Regions from separate parts of the Homo sapiens genome. Here region 2 is linked to region 1. Evidence: promoter capture Hi-C in 16 types of primary human blood cells and fetal thymus (Javierre and others, 2016). All regions are on one chromosome and are shown on one strand. The core of a region is centred on a gene start or on the middle of the fragment in contact, and the rest is flanking DNA. Distances in the headings are between cores, read along the strand shown. Region 1 holds the start of SAP130 (Sin3A associated protein 130). Region 2 overlaps IWS1 (interacts with SUPT6H, CTD assembly factor 1).

Region 1 (3,918 bases), core at 67-2,566:
AAAGATCCGATATCTTACATCCAGACCCGATGCAAAAGGAATTCTCCAATGCTTTTCGGCAAAGGCCTCCATTTACGGATTTCCTTTTCCTTCTCTTCCACAGATCCCCTCACAGAGCCAGAGGACCCTACACCTTCTCCATCTTCCCTAAAATCGCCCCCCACTTTTCCCTCAGGAGCCAAGCGATCTCCCGATTCGCCCGCAACCCCACCCCACCGCGAAGCCCCCGCTGAGACCGGAGGACGCCGGTTTCCAGACACCTCGGAGTGTGAGACCCCCGTCTCCGGGGTGGGGGTGCGGACGGGCGATCTGGGGACCCGACCACAAGACGAGCACTGTGCCTCTTTACCTGTAGCCGCCGCCCGCCGCCCGCACCGCCCGCTTCTATCTCGCCGGCCTGGGGGTGCCGCGGAGGGCCCATCTCGGCGGCGGCGATGTGCTCGGCGGGCGCGGGGAGGGATCGCGGCGGCGGCGCCCGGGGCCCGCTGCTGTCCAGCCCCGCTGGCCCCACTCACCCCCGCCACCCGGCCGCCGCTGTGCTCGCAGTCCTCTTCCCCCGAACCTGCCCCTGCCTCCCCCGCCCGCCCATTGGCCCCACGCCCGACGCGTCAGTGGAGGCCCAGGACCAATCCACAGCGACCTGCACGTTCAGAGCCCGCCCCACCCTCCCGCCGACTGCCAGCCAATCAGGCGCGAGCCTGGCCGGGGCAGCCCAAACCCCTCGAGGCTGAGCCAATGGCAGAGGAAGACAGGCGCCCCCGGCGAAGGGGGCGGGGAGCGGGGAGGCCCCGCCTCAGCCAGGGTCTGAAAGCGGCGGGCGCAGGGCCCGGATGTGGAGAGTCACTTTAAACTGCTCCAGGAGCCAAACTCCCTGGGCCGGCCGCCCGCCCGCCCGCCCGCCCGCGCTCCCCCGGCCGCTCTGCTTCCCCGCCAAGGCCCACGTCCGCCACGCCCCCACGCCCGGGTCAGCCCACCCCTCCCGGTGCCTCTCCCTTCCTCGCCACAGGACACCCAGCCCCTGTCGCCGGCCCAACCGCCGTGACCAGCTCGCGAAAGAGCCGCGGTCCGAGCCGCAGGAGACGAGGATCCTCTGCCCTTCCCCGGGGACGCGCAACGGGACGGACGCTGCAGCCCGGCTCAGCCGCCCCGCCCCCTCGTCTCCTCCCCTTCCCTCCCGGGCGCCCGTCCCGCCATTACCTGGGTGCTGCGCCCAGTGGCCGCCGCGCCGCCTTGAGCTCGCTCCCGCGCGCTCTCCGTCTGTGGGGCCGACGTCCCCAGGCTCCGGACCCGCAGCCACCGCCGGGGAGCTAGCACTCTGCCCCCCACCCCTCACTCCAGCGCCGCTGCTTCCGCCGCCGTAACGAGCCTCCCGTCTATTGGCTGGCGCAGGCCCCGCCCCCTGCCGAGTCAGCCAGTCGCCGGTGGTCGTGAGCGGGAGAGCGGACGGGCCCGCCCCTCTGAGCCGCGGCGTCCTGTGGGAAATGTAGTCGCCGGAGTCAGGAGGGCGGGCCGCGAAGGAGGTGGAGAGCGCCGGGGCGGGGCCGCAGGCGACCCGGCCAGGGCAACACACCCCTTTGCTGTCTGAAGTCGGTTCTGCCTTTTCTCTTGGCTAAGTGAGAAGACAGTGGATCCCACCCTATGCCTTAACCTGAGGGCACTGGGTTTCATTTTCCCCGCGGGGAGGCGCGGCGCGGGAAAGGGTAATGGAGGCCAACTGCGGCGGCCAAGGGATCCGCGGGCCGGGCCAGTGTCGTGACGGTGCCCGCCTCCCTATGCCGCGAGTGGGACTCGGTGTCCCCACCGGGAACCGCGGTCGGCACAGCCTACGCGCGGCGGGAGCCGCCAGGCGCAGCGCGGGCGCGGCTCTGTGAAAGCAGGCCGGCAGGGCGCAGGGCTCTGGGCGGCCGGGGCGCACCTGCGCGCGCTTTCCGGATTATAAAGGAGCTGAAGGGGGCAGTTTTATTTTGTCATTTTGCTTGGGGTTCAGGGTTGGAGTTTATGCACCTGTAGAAGACTTAGCCATATCTTTTGAGGCCACATTTGTGTCTGATAAGAGATTAAGTCTCCCTCTTCCCTTACCAGATGGTAATTTAGGCCTGGAGTTTTGTGATTAGTTAGGAAATAAATGGGGCTCAAACCCCCCTCTTCCTATCATGCACAGCTGTGTAAGACAACTGCTTGGTTAGAAGAGAGTAGCTCCTGGCTATAGCCCAGGGATGAGTCTCAGATACTCCTCCTCTTCAAGCCACTTTCCTTTTCCACCTTCATGCCTTCATTCTCAAACTTCTAAAGAGTGACTCCTGTGATAGACTTCAGCCTCCTCTCTGCCTAGGCAGTCCTTATCCCTTTTGGAGTTGCCACTCTTCTCAGACTGCTCCCCAAAAGTTGCCAACACCTACTCAACTTCAAACCCATCGGTCCTCACTTAGATCTCATCTTGTTTAGCTTACTGACCAGTAGTAATTCCTCCTCATGTCTTCCCTTGGCCTCTAGAACCAGGCTGTCTCCTGCTTCTACTCCTATGTCAAGCTCCATTATACCTCCTCTTTCTCATAAATACAGCATTCTTCAGGGCTCCAACACGCTAATGCTATACTGCCTTCCTAAATGGTTTAATGTATTTCCACAGTTTCAAATGTCATCCTTTTTGTTTTTTGTTTTTTTGAGACAGGTTCTCAGTTCAGCCCAAGCTGAAGTCCAGTGGCGTGATCACAGCTCATTGCAGCCTCGACTTCCTTGTCTCAACTAACTTATTGCCTCAGCCTCCTGAGTAGCCAGGACTGCAGGCGCATGCCACCACACCCCACTAAACATATATATATGCCAGGCACGTGGCTCATGCCTGTAATCCCAGCACTTTGGGAGGCCGAGGCAGGCGAATCACCTGAGGTCAGGAGTTCGAGACCAGCCTGACCAACATGGGAAAGACCCCATCTCTACTAAAGATACAAAATTAGCCGGGAATGGTGGCAAATTCCTGTAATCCCAGCTACTCAGGAGGCTAAGGCAGGAAAATTGCTTGAACCCGGGAGGCAGAAGTTGCTGTGAGCCCAGATCAAGCCATTGCACTCCAGCCTGGGCAACAAGAGCGAAACTCTGTCTCAAAAATATATATTTATATATGAATACATATATTTTATATATATAATATATATTTTTGAGATGGAGTTGTATGTATATATATGTATATATGTATATATATGTATATATACGTGTGTGTGTGTGTGTGTGTGTGTGTGTGTATATATATATTTTTTTTTTTTTGAATAGAGACAGGGTTCCACCATATGCCCAGGCTGGTCTTGAACTCCTGGGCTTAAGCGATCTGCCCACCTCAGCCTCCCAATGTGCTGGCATTATAGGCATGAGCCACTACACCCAGCCTCAAATATCTTTGAAAATGTTACCTATGCATAGGTGACCTCTCCGAGTTGTATACCTATATTTCCGCCTGATGGGCCAATCCACACAGAAGTCTTAACAAGCCCCTCAAAGTTAATGTATTGAACACCTTTATTGGTTTGCCTCCCCTGTGTACTCCCCTTGATACCTGGGTTTACTTACTGGCATCACCATCCTTTCTGTCTTCAGCTTCATATATGTTCCACACTCTTCCATCTCCCACAGCCGCCATATTACATTGATATGCACCTCTGCCTCCTTTTCTATTGTTTCCATAGCTGTGGCTCAAGCTGCCATTATTTCTTATCTGAATTGCAGCAATGCTGCTGCCCCCACTGAAATCTCTTCCTACACCCACTATGTCCTCCAGAATTCTTTTTCTAAATCACTAATCTGGATCTATCCTTCCCATCCACGATGTTTCCATATCTTCGGAATATATTCCAAATCCCTATGCCCATTATCCAAAGGCCTTAATAATTTAGTCTCTCCTGCCTCTCCAGACACTGGATACTC
Region 2 (4,211 bases), core at 1,408-3,907, 520 kb before region 1:
CAGCACCCTATACACTCATGTAGCCTCCCCAGAAAGTCCTCTCATGGCCCCTTCTAGCTGGTCCCCAATATCAACATCCTAGAAACAACTGCCACCTTGACTTCCAACACCACAGATAAATTTTGCCTACTGAACTTCATGTAAATGGAATCATATATGTCCTCTTTGCTTTCTTTCACTTAACATGTTAATTCTGAGATGAATTCTGAGATTCACCCACATTGTAGTGTGTTCAGTTCAGGAACTAAAATACTAAATCCCCAAAGACATGCAATTAGGCAGGACATATTGTATTATAACACAGACCCCTCTCTACTGCCTAATTAAGAACCCCTGAAAACTCATGTTATACTGTCACTTACTCTTCTTCATTGCCTGACTCACTGTCACTCCCAAACAGATCCTTCTCTTCATTTTTCTTATCAGACAATTCTTTCCCAGCTTCTTCCTCACTGTCAGATGCTATGGTCTTCTCTCTTTTGCCTGACTTGTCTGATACAGCATCACTGTCAGAGTCATCTGCATCAGAGACAACACGACTCTTCTTTGCTGCTGTTGAAAAAGAAAATCATCATTAATTTTATTTTATCACAGCCATTGTATTACTAAGCATAACAGGTGCTTTAAGATGGCAGTATACAGCAAAAATAAATAAATAAATAAATAAATAAATAAATAAATAAAATAAAATCAGAGGGCCTCCTGACACATGGTTTAGAATTTTTAAAATAACTAAATGGCTCATTCAGAGTCATCTTACAAATTATCTGTTATTTTGCTTAAGAAAAACTGGCCAAAAGATGAAGAAAGATATCATCAATATAAAAGCAGCCACCTTTCCTTTTGGGAAATCGAGAAAATTAAAACTAGATTGATGGGCAAAACTGGCATCCTTTCTATGTTGCCTAGTAGTAACTGAACTAAAAAGGACTACATATTTCTTTCTAGGAATAGTCTCCATGTTCCTCTATCATTGCTGGTCAGTTTGAAATTTCTCATCTCCCTTAACAAATTGACAGCATGTCTGGTACCTTTTCCTTCTCCTATAAGAACTGTGAGGTTATAATGAAATATGTCTTTTCCAAAAAAGATAAGTTTCATAAAAAAGTAGACAAGTAATACTATCTGTGCAAATGGAGTCTTAGATAGCAGAGACTGAAACACTCTGGAGAGAGATGGTGTCTCTAAATAGAATCCTCTCAAAGCTTCCCTGTATCTGAATATTCAACAATGTTTAACAAATGAAGAGATGTACCTGTGGGAGCTGTTACTGTTTGGATGGGATCTAGTGAACTAAGTGTCAAAGAGACCCACAGCTAACAATTAATACAGTTAGGGGTTTTTATGTAAACGTATTTCTTTGAAACATTACCTCTTCCAGTTTTAAAAAAAAAAAACAGTATTTTATATTCCTATTGACATGTGGTTTATCACTTTGAGGCAGTCAGAGATTAATATGTGCTAATAGAACTCCAAGGAAACTTACTATTAAGCTTAGCTAATGATAACCAGGGGAAATGAGTGTCCTACTGATATTTTAGAATATTAAGCTGAATAACAGAACACAGATCTGACATACCAAGAGGATACAATGTTCCACAGTTACAAGCTTAGACAATGAATAAAGCCATTGATAAACAGCCCAAGGTAACTCCTTACATGCTTTCTCTTCATCTTCACTATCAGAAAGCACAGCAGCTTTTCTCTTCGCTACTTTCTCCTCCTCACCCTCTTTTTCATCTTCATCACTGTCCATTTTTTGCTTTTTGTGTTCTTCCTCCTCACTATCAGAACTGTGAAACTTTTTTCTGTCCATATGGCTGTCTGAATGGAAGGAGTCATTCTGCATTTCTGTATCCTCTCCCTTATTCTCCCTGTCGCTGTCATCATCTGACTCTGGCTTCTGTTTGTGTCTGGACGCATCCTCAGTTTCTGAGTCACTGGCAGGCCCCTTCTGAGGCCCCTCACTCTCAGAGTCACTGACTCGGGGTTTGGGTAGCTCCTCATTTTCCGAATCACTGGCCTGGTTCCTTGGGGGATCCTCACTTTCCGAATCACTGATTCGGGGTTTGGGAAGCTCTTCATTTTCTGAGTCACTGGCCTGGTGCCTCGGAGGGTCCTCACTTTCTGAGTCACTGATACGAGGTTTGGGAAGCTCCTCATTTTCAGAGTCACTGGCCTGGTGCCTTGGGGGTTCCTCACTTTCTGAATCACTGACCTGAGGTTTAGGAAGCTCCTCACTTTCAGAATCACTCATTCGAGGTTTGGGAGGCTCCTCATTTTCGGAGTCACTGGCTTGGTGCCTTGGGGGTTCCTCACTCTCAGAGTCACTGATTTGAGGTTTTAGAGCATCTTCTGTTTCAGAGTCACTAGCAGGACTCTTCTGGAGCTCCTCAATCTCAGAATCACTGGCGGGATGCTTCCCAACATCTTCGTTTTCTGAGTCACTTGCATGCCCATTAAGAAGTTCCTCATTTTCAGAGTCACTACCAGGTAATTTCCTGGTCTCTTCACTCTCAGAGTCGCTCCCATGCTGATTGACATCCTCATTTTCAGAATCGCTTGCAGGAGGCTCTGCACGTTCCTCAGATTCAGAGTCGCTGTCCTTTTGCCTGTGAAGCTCCTCACTTTCAGAGTCACTAGCATTAAGATTTAAGGGCTCATCGTTCTCAGAGTCTGTCACATGATGTCCTTTGGGGAGGCCATCTTCTCGATCACTAGTTTCATTCTGAAAAATAAAGTGAGAAAAAATTAGGAAAGTGCAAAAAAAAAAAAACCATTAATAATAAAACATTAAATTTTTTCTGTGATTTTTTTAAAATACAGGATTATGTGCACCTAAATGGAGAATTCTTGTCCTATACCCATATAGAAACACCCCCACAGAAAGCCAATCAGTGAAATGGTTTTATTTGGATCCCCAAATGGGGAAATATAACCAGCCTTCATCAAAACAGATTTGTAAAGCATGCCCTCAGATTACTACAGAAAACTGACCGTGAAGAGCTAGATTTTTTCTTTTTTAAAAGGCGAATTTTCTCATACATACTTCTGTTTTGTAAAAATATAACTCTAGGCTGGACAAGGTGGCTCACACCTTTTGGGAGGCCGAGGTGGTGGATCACCTGAGGTCAGGAGTTCGAGACCAGCCCGGCCAACATGGTGAAACCCTGTCTCTATTAAAAATACAAAAATTAGCTGGGCGTGGTGGTGGACACCTGTAATCCCAGCTACTAGGGAGGCTGAGGCAGGAGAATCACTTGAACCTGGGAGGCGGAGGTTGCAGTGAGCTGAGATTGCACCATCGCACTCCAGCCTGGGTGACAGAGTGAGACTGTCAAAAATAAAAATAAATAAATAAAAATAAATAACTCTATTTTTCAAAGAAATACAAGCAAACATGTAACCAAGTTCTTTTACACAGGAACATTCTTGGGTTTTATAAGGTTAAGATTATTTAAGGGAAAAGAACTATAAAATTTAATTTTATTTAAAGGGTCAAATAACATATGGGCACCTTCTCCCAAGATAATTTAAGCAAACAAAGAAAGGAGAAGTTAACATTTCCTAAGTACCCACTAAGAGCCAATACCACAACAGGCTCTCTCCTGTTAGTTCATTTACTCCTCATAATGGTACTTCTCATGATAACAAAATTGAGGCTTACAGTAGTCACGGTCCTGTGTCTAGTAACCCTAGAAACAAGAAAGCTTAAGTTTTAGGGAGAACATGATTCATCTAACTATACCAACACATAATGTTACTTGAAATAATTACTCTGAAAACATGCCCTGGGGTACAAACTTGATATGTGCATATTATAGCTATGGCTTTAAAATGCAGAGAAAAATATACAAAATTAAACATGCCAAAATACTAACAAGTATTTTAGGATCCGGTGAATTTTTTCTCCCATCTGGTAGCTCAACTTTAAATAACATGGCAATAATATTCTAGCTTAAAAAGTGAAAGTATTTCCGTGTTTGAGTATACCCTCTTAAAAATTTACTGAGCCAAATATTTCTTGTTAGATATATGACTTAAGCTATGTGAACCTACCACAGACCAATTTTCAAGGACCAAAGAGCCTTTAATAATATATATGCCCAACATCATGCTATGAAACAGTTAAGTGACAAGATTATTCTTGTCAATGACAAGATAAATGGCTTGAAAATGTTCTCATAAAACCCAAACTTTTACTAACCCAA

The links. Contacts are between HindIII fragments. The CHiCAGO score rates a contact against its expected background, and 5 or more counts as called.
Region 2: a fragment that was not itself captured here is called in contact with the fragment with the promoter of SAP130 in region 1 in 1 of 17 cell types (total CD4 T cells); the score reaches 6.3 in total CD4 T cells.

Annotation. Positions count from the first base shown.
Region 1 is chr2:128,026,743-128,030,660 of GRCh38, forward strand. SAP130 (Sin3A associated protein 130) reads right to left here and starts at 1,317. Exons shown (of 21, transcript NM_001330301.2): 1 at 1,198-1,317. RefSeq lists silencers at 295-584, 645-984, 1,085-1,604, 1,855-2,004. The HindIII fragment of the contact is 20,582 bases long and covers 1-3,918 here.
Region 2 is chr2:127,503,025-127,507,235 of GRCh38, forward strand. IWS1 (interacts with SUPT6H, CTD assembly factor 1) reads right to left here. Exons shown (of 14, transcript NM_017969.3): 3 at 1,660-2,728; 4 at 363-552. Among named protein-coding and RNA genes, the nearest start is that of IWS1, 21 kb to the right of the region's middle. The HindIII fragment of the contact is 2,101 bases long and covers 1,608-3,708 here.